Regions from separate parts of the Homo sapiens genome. Here region 2 is linked to region 1. The links are contacts of gene promoters, found by promoter capture Hi-C in blood cells and fetal thymus (Javierre and others, 2016). All regions are on one chromosome and are shown on one strand. Each heading gives the region's core, a stretch centred on a gene start or on the middle of the fragment in contact. The rest is flanking DNA. Distances are from core to core; before and after follow the strand shown.

The links. Contacts are between HindIII fragments. The CHiCAGO score rates a contact against its expected background, and 5 or more counts as called.
Region 2: a contact is called between a fragment that was not itself captured here and the fragment with the promoter of MAOA in region 1, in 2 of 17 cell types (naive CD8 T cells and naive B cells). The highest score is 5.6, in naive CD8 T cells.

Annotation. Positions count from the first base shown.
Region 1 is chrX:43,655,001-43,657,700 of GRCh38, forward strand. MAOA (monoamine oxidase A) reads left to right here and starts at 1,299. Exons shown (of 15, transcript NM_000240.4): 1 at 1,299-1,414. The coding sequence starts at 1,342. RefSeq lists a silencer at 1-201 and an enhancer at 133-192. The HindIII fragment of the contact is 10,667 bases long and covers 1-2,700 here.
Region 2 is chrX:41,710,953-41,713,652 of GRCh38, forward strand. The region is part of intron 5 of CASK (calcium/calmodulin dependent serine protein kinase); the gene reads right to left. Among named protein-coding and RNA genes, the nearest start is that of GPR82, 12 kb to the right of the region's middle. RefSeq lists enhancers at 559-1,059, 1,060-1,560. The HindIII fragment of the contact is 3,582 bases long and covers 1-2,700 here.

The DNA.
Region 1 (2,700 bases), core at 49-2,548:
TGACCGTGGAGAAGGGCTGCGGGAAGCAGAACACCGCCCCCAGCGCCCAGCGTGCTCCAGAAACATGAGCACAAACGCCTCAGCCTCCTTCCCCGGCGGCACCGGCACCGGCACCAGTACCCGCACCAGTACCGGCACCGGCACCAGTACCCGCACCAGTACCGGCACCGGCACCAGTACCCGCACCAGTACCGGCACCGGCACCGAGCGCAAGGCGGAGGGCCCGCCCGAAGCCGGGGGCACAACTGCCCAGGTCCCGAACCCGGACTCCAGCTTGGACGACACCTCCTACAGCCTGTCCGAATGGAGCGTCCGTTCTGAGTGGCGGTCCGTCTCGGATCCGCTAGCCAGTTCCCAGTGGAGCACGTCCTCAACTGCCGAGGCCGCCTCCTGGAGCTCCAGCATACACTCCCCAATCAGCACTACCGGTCTTAGCGAGAGTACTGACTCCGACTCCAAGAGTGGCCTCCGGGGTTTCAGCGCTTACAACCCGAGCAGTCGGATCCCCAAGTCTACCACCAGCTCGAACTCCTCCGATGGGGCCGTCACAGCCTCCAATCAGGACACCGGCATTCCCTGGGTATTAGTAACAGGACCTACCCCGCCCGTAAACTCCCCCGTAGAGTCATTGCAAGGGTCTGCCTTCTCCTCAGGGTTCAGCACCCCACGGGGTTTGGTAAAAGGACCGACCCTGCCCCCGGATTCCAACCTGACCTCAGTGTCCGACTACACTTGGATATTTGTACGGGGACCTCCTATACCCAATGACCTTTCGCAAGTGTCAATACAAGCACCTCCTACACCCAGTAACACCCCCGAGTGTCAGTACAAGGGTCTGCCGCATCCTCAGTGTCCAGCTTCCCCTGGGGTTTGGTACCAGGACCACCTCTACCCAATAACATTTCCCCAGTGTCGCCACAAGCACCTCCTGCACCCCATAACATCCCCCCAGTGTCAAGGCAGGCGTCTACCCCCACCTCAGTGCCTGACACTCCGCGGGGTTCAATACAAGAACCTCCTGCACCCAGTAATCCTTTCCAGCTGCCGACACAAGGACATTCTAAACCTAATAACTCTCGCCGAGTGTCAGTACAAGGGTCCGCCCCGCTCTCAGTGCCCAGCTCCCCCCGGGTATCAGCTGAAACATCAGCTCCGCCCCTGGGCGCTCCCGGAGTATCAGCAAAAGGGTTCGCCCCGCCCACAGTGCCCGGCTCCCCCCGGGTATCAAAAGAAGGATCGGCTCCGCCCCCGGGCTCCCCGGGGGAGTTGATAGAAGGGTCCTTCCCACCCTTTGCCGTCCCCACTCCTGTGCCTACGACCCAGGAGCGTGTCAGCCAAAGCATGGAGAATCAAGAGAAGGCGAGTATCGCGGGCCACATGTTCGACGTAGTCGTGATCGGAGGTGGCATTTCAGGTCAGTGTGGACCGTAGCGGTGGCCTGGGGGACCCTGGCCAGTGAGGGGTAGGGGAACCTACAGTAGCTCTTGTGGTGTTTGGGGGTCTCTCATGCATGCGAGAGTGTAGTGTAGCCATGGCTTGGCCCCATATCCTGCGAGGTAGGAGTGGGGGTTGTGCCAGTTTTGCTGGTGGTGTGACTGGGGGAGGCAGACACAATAATTTTACTACTACTACTATTAAATACTAATATTTAATTAGCTCTTGCTGTGCAGTTGTATTTAGCACTTTACGTGGATTTTCTCAGTCCTCAACAGTCCTGTGAGGTGGGAACTAAATTCATCCCCGTTTTGCAAAACCAAGAAACTGAGGTCTGGGGAGTTTCAATAACTCTCTTGAGGTCGAATCACCTAGCTTGTAAGTGGCTGAACGATTTTCTCCCATTTAAGACCTGCAGTACTAATTCCTGAGGTGGCTGCTTTGCCTCACTGATTTCATATCCTTTGCCCTAAACAGAACATCAGGATACAGATTTCTGTAGTATTGAGGGAGCAGTAGTGTTATTCCAGTCCTGCTCTTCTCTATTTTCCGTAGAAAATTTAGTAGGTGAAGAGGAAGGAGGTAGACTCCTTTAAGAAAAGGTTAAAAAAAAAAAGAGGAGAAGAGGGGGTGAGCTCTTAAACTATTCCTGTGTGTGTGTGTGTGTGTGTGTGTGTGTGTGTGTGTATGAACTGTGTTTATATATATATATGAACTGTGTTTATATATATATATGAACTGTGTTTATATATATATATGAACTGTGTTTATATATATATATGAACTGTGTTTATATATATATATGAACTGTGTTTATATATATATATATGAACTGTGTTTATATATATATATATATGAACTGTGTGTGTGTATATATATATATGAACTTGCAGGAAGGTGTAGGACATTTATTGTCCAAAGAGAATCCCTTTATGAAGCAGGGGCTGAGTGCCCTGTTGTATCCTCCTTCCTCCTTTCACTAAGAGCTCCCACCACCTGAATCTTGTCTTCTGATGAGCCAGTTGGTGGGCCAGGGTGCCCCTGGTCCTGGCTTGGATTTGTGGCTAACCAAGTGAGTGGTGCATGAGGCTTTCCAATATCTTCCTGGAAGCCTCATCATGATTGATATATTGTCGCCTATGTTGCCATCATTGGTAAAATGTTTGAAAATTAGGAATTTTGTTGCCTTTCATCCCTGGCTAGAATACCACACTGACCTATCCTCCCCCTACTAGGTGTTAATAATTTCTGAGTTATCCCTGCAGG
Region 2 (2,700 bases), core at 94-2,593, 1.9 Mb before region 1:
AGCTCCGTGCCCCAGGATTATGCATCTTTTCATCTGTATCCTTTATAATAAACGGGTATATGTAACTGGTTCCCTGAGTTCTGTGAGGCGCTCTAGCAAATTAATTGGGCCCAAAGAGGGAGCCGTGGGATCCCTGATTTATAGCTAGTCAGTCAGAAGCATAGGTGACACAGCCTGGGGCTAGCCATTGGCATCTAAAGGTGGGGGCCAGTCTTGGGGACTAAGCCCTCAACCTGTGGAATCTGATGCTATCTCTAGGTACATAGTGTCAGAACATAACTGAATTAGAGGACACCTAGCTGGTGTCAACTGCAGAATTGCTTGCTTGCTTGTTGGTTGGGGAGAAATCCCCACACATTTGGTCACAGAAATCATCTGTGTTAATTGTTGTTGAAAGAGTAGAAAAGTACTTTGTGAGTTTTGTTTTCCTTCCAAACTATGAATTGGTTTCAGTGAGGTAGGGTTTGCTAGAATGGACTTGGCTCACAGAAACATGTGGTTTGGGAAGAGAAAGAATGAAAGTGACAGCAGCAGGAGGCAGACAAAATGCCTAGACAGATAGGGGCGAGTCCTCAGTGAAATTGACCTTCAAGCTGAAGACAGTTTAAAGCCTACCTACATGTCCCGGGTAAATCCATGGACTGGATTGAGAACCTGTCTTCCTGTTTGGTGTGCTTTCCTCTGATTGATCCCCGCCCCTCACCTATTTTACATATACCTACCCTTCCCTAATTGGTTTTCTACACTGTTGTGCCCACCTTTGAGTGGTGTCTTCGCTTTAACCTTTTCTGCATACTCACAAACCAATCAGCACACATGCCCCATTCTGAATCCATAAAATACCATGGACCCAGCCACACTGAGAGAGACAAACCACCCGACTGCAGGGGTGGGGGGGCCACCCGTGTCCCCTCTCTGCTGAAAGCTGTTCTGCTGCTCAATAAAATTCTTCCCTACCCATCCTCACCCTTCAAATTGTCAGCGTATCCTCATTCTTCGTGGATAAGGACAGGAGCTTGGGAACTGCTGAACGCAGGTACAAGCCATAGCACAGGTGGGGTGAGTGGGCCTGACGCCTCAGCAGGCCCATGGCCAAGCAAAGGCCAGGTAGGGGGGCGTTGCTGGCCATGGAGGTCCCTGATTGGCAAAGTGGCCAAGAAAAATCCTGCGTCAAAAAGGTGGGAGATGAGGAATCTTTGATTCCTGGGTGGCCATGTGGTTTCCCACTGTTTTGAGCTGCAGCTGTGCTGCAATCAGCTACTAAAGGTAAAAGTTACTGGTGGAATTCAGAGATGGATGCAACTCCCGGGGAGTTGGTTCACTGGTTGCATGAGGGTATGCAGACTAATATGAAAAAGTGAAATACTAAATTCTTTGGTGTTTATCTCTAATAGCTAAATGAAATTAAAGGAGAATGCTAGGTTAGACTTTGTCTGTCTGAGCCCAGGCCACTAGCCTCAAAGCTGACCCCCAAGGAAAAATTATGCAAGGACACTGAAGTACCTTTACGATTGAAACTGCCTTTGCAAAACTGTAACTAAGGAAATTATGACAGTGAAAAATATCAGACCTAACCAACTCCATCTTGCTTCTAACCTCTAAACTGTCCTTGTCCATTACTGGGCATAGGCCAAACTAGCCTTGGGAAGGAATTTAATTTATAGTTTAAATAATAGCCCTTCCCAAAAGCTAAACTGTTCTTGTAAAACGAATGAAAGGCCACCAGCCACCAAGTACGGATGAGAGGGGCTGGAATTCTAAATGTTACCAGCCATTATTCTGGAGGTCATAAGATTTGCAACTTACATCACTATCGTGAACCTAAGATTGGCCTTTTGAGATATCTTTTCAGGTATTTGCATTTCTAACAACTGGATGGCCCCACCTGGACCTGCCAACCAGTTCTGTGGCCCCCTACCCAGGAACTGAATCAGCATGAGAGGACAGCTTTGACTCCCTATGATTTCATTCCAGAGCCAACCAATCAGCACTCCTGATTCACAGCCCACTACCCACCAAATTATCCTTAAAATCTCTGATCCCCGAGTCTTCTGGGAGACTGATGTGAGTAATAATAAAACTCCGCTCTCCTGCACGGCTGGTTCTGCGTGAATTACTTTTTTTCTATTGCAATTTCCCTGTATTGATAAATCAGCTCTGTCTAGACAGCGGGCAAGATGAACCCACTGGACAGTTACACAACCTGTGGTTATCAAGAAGGGTAGTCAATGTGGGGAAAGGGTAAAACTGATAAACTATTGAAACTGGAGGGTATACTGTGAAGGAACTGTCAGAGCAGTTTCTTTGGTTTTAAATGCTCAAGAGTGGAAGAGCATGTTTGGTTGAGGTAGGACCTGCAGTTCATTATTGAACAATCACAGATGGAAAGGTAGATTTCCAGACACACAGGAGGTTATTTCCAAGGGAATGGCCAGCGTGGTGGACTGGACCTGTTTACCCTGAGAAGGGGACTGTCCAATTTCACCTATAAATGCCAAGTGGTGTACCCTGAAGCAGCAGCTCATTTGCTTCCTATGTAGACCATGTGGGACTGGCTTTATGATGACTGAGATATTCACTCACTGAATACATCCATTACTCTGGCTGTAGTAAATGCTATGGCTAAGGGAGCCTCTTTTGTATGGGCACCAATGAAAACATGAGCGTAATTAACAAGAGACTGGGGAAAGGCAGAGGGGA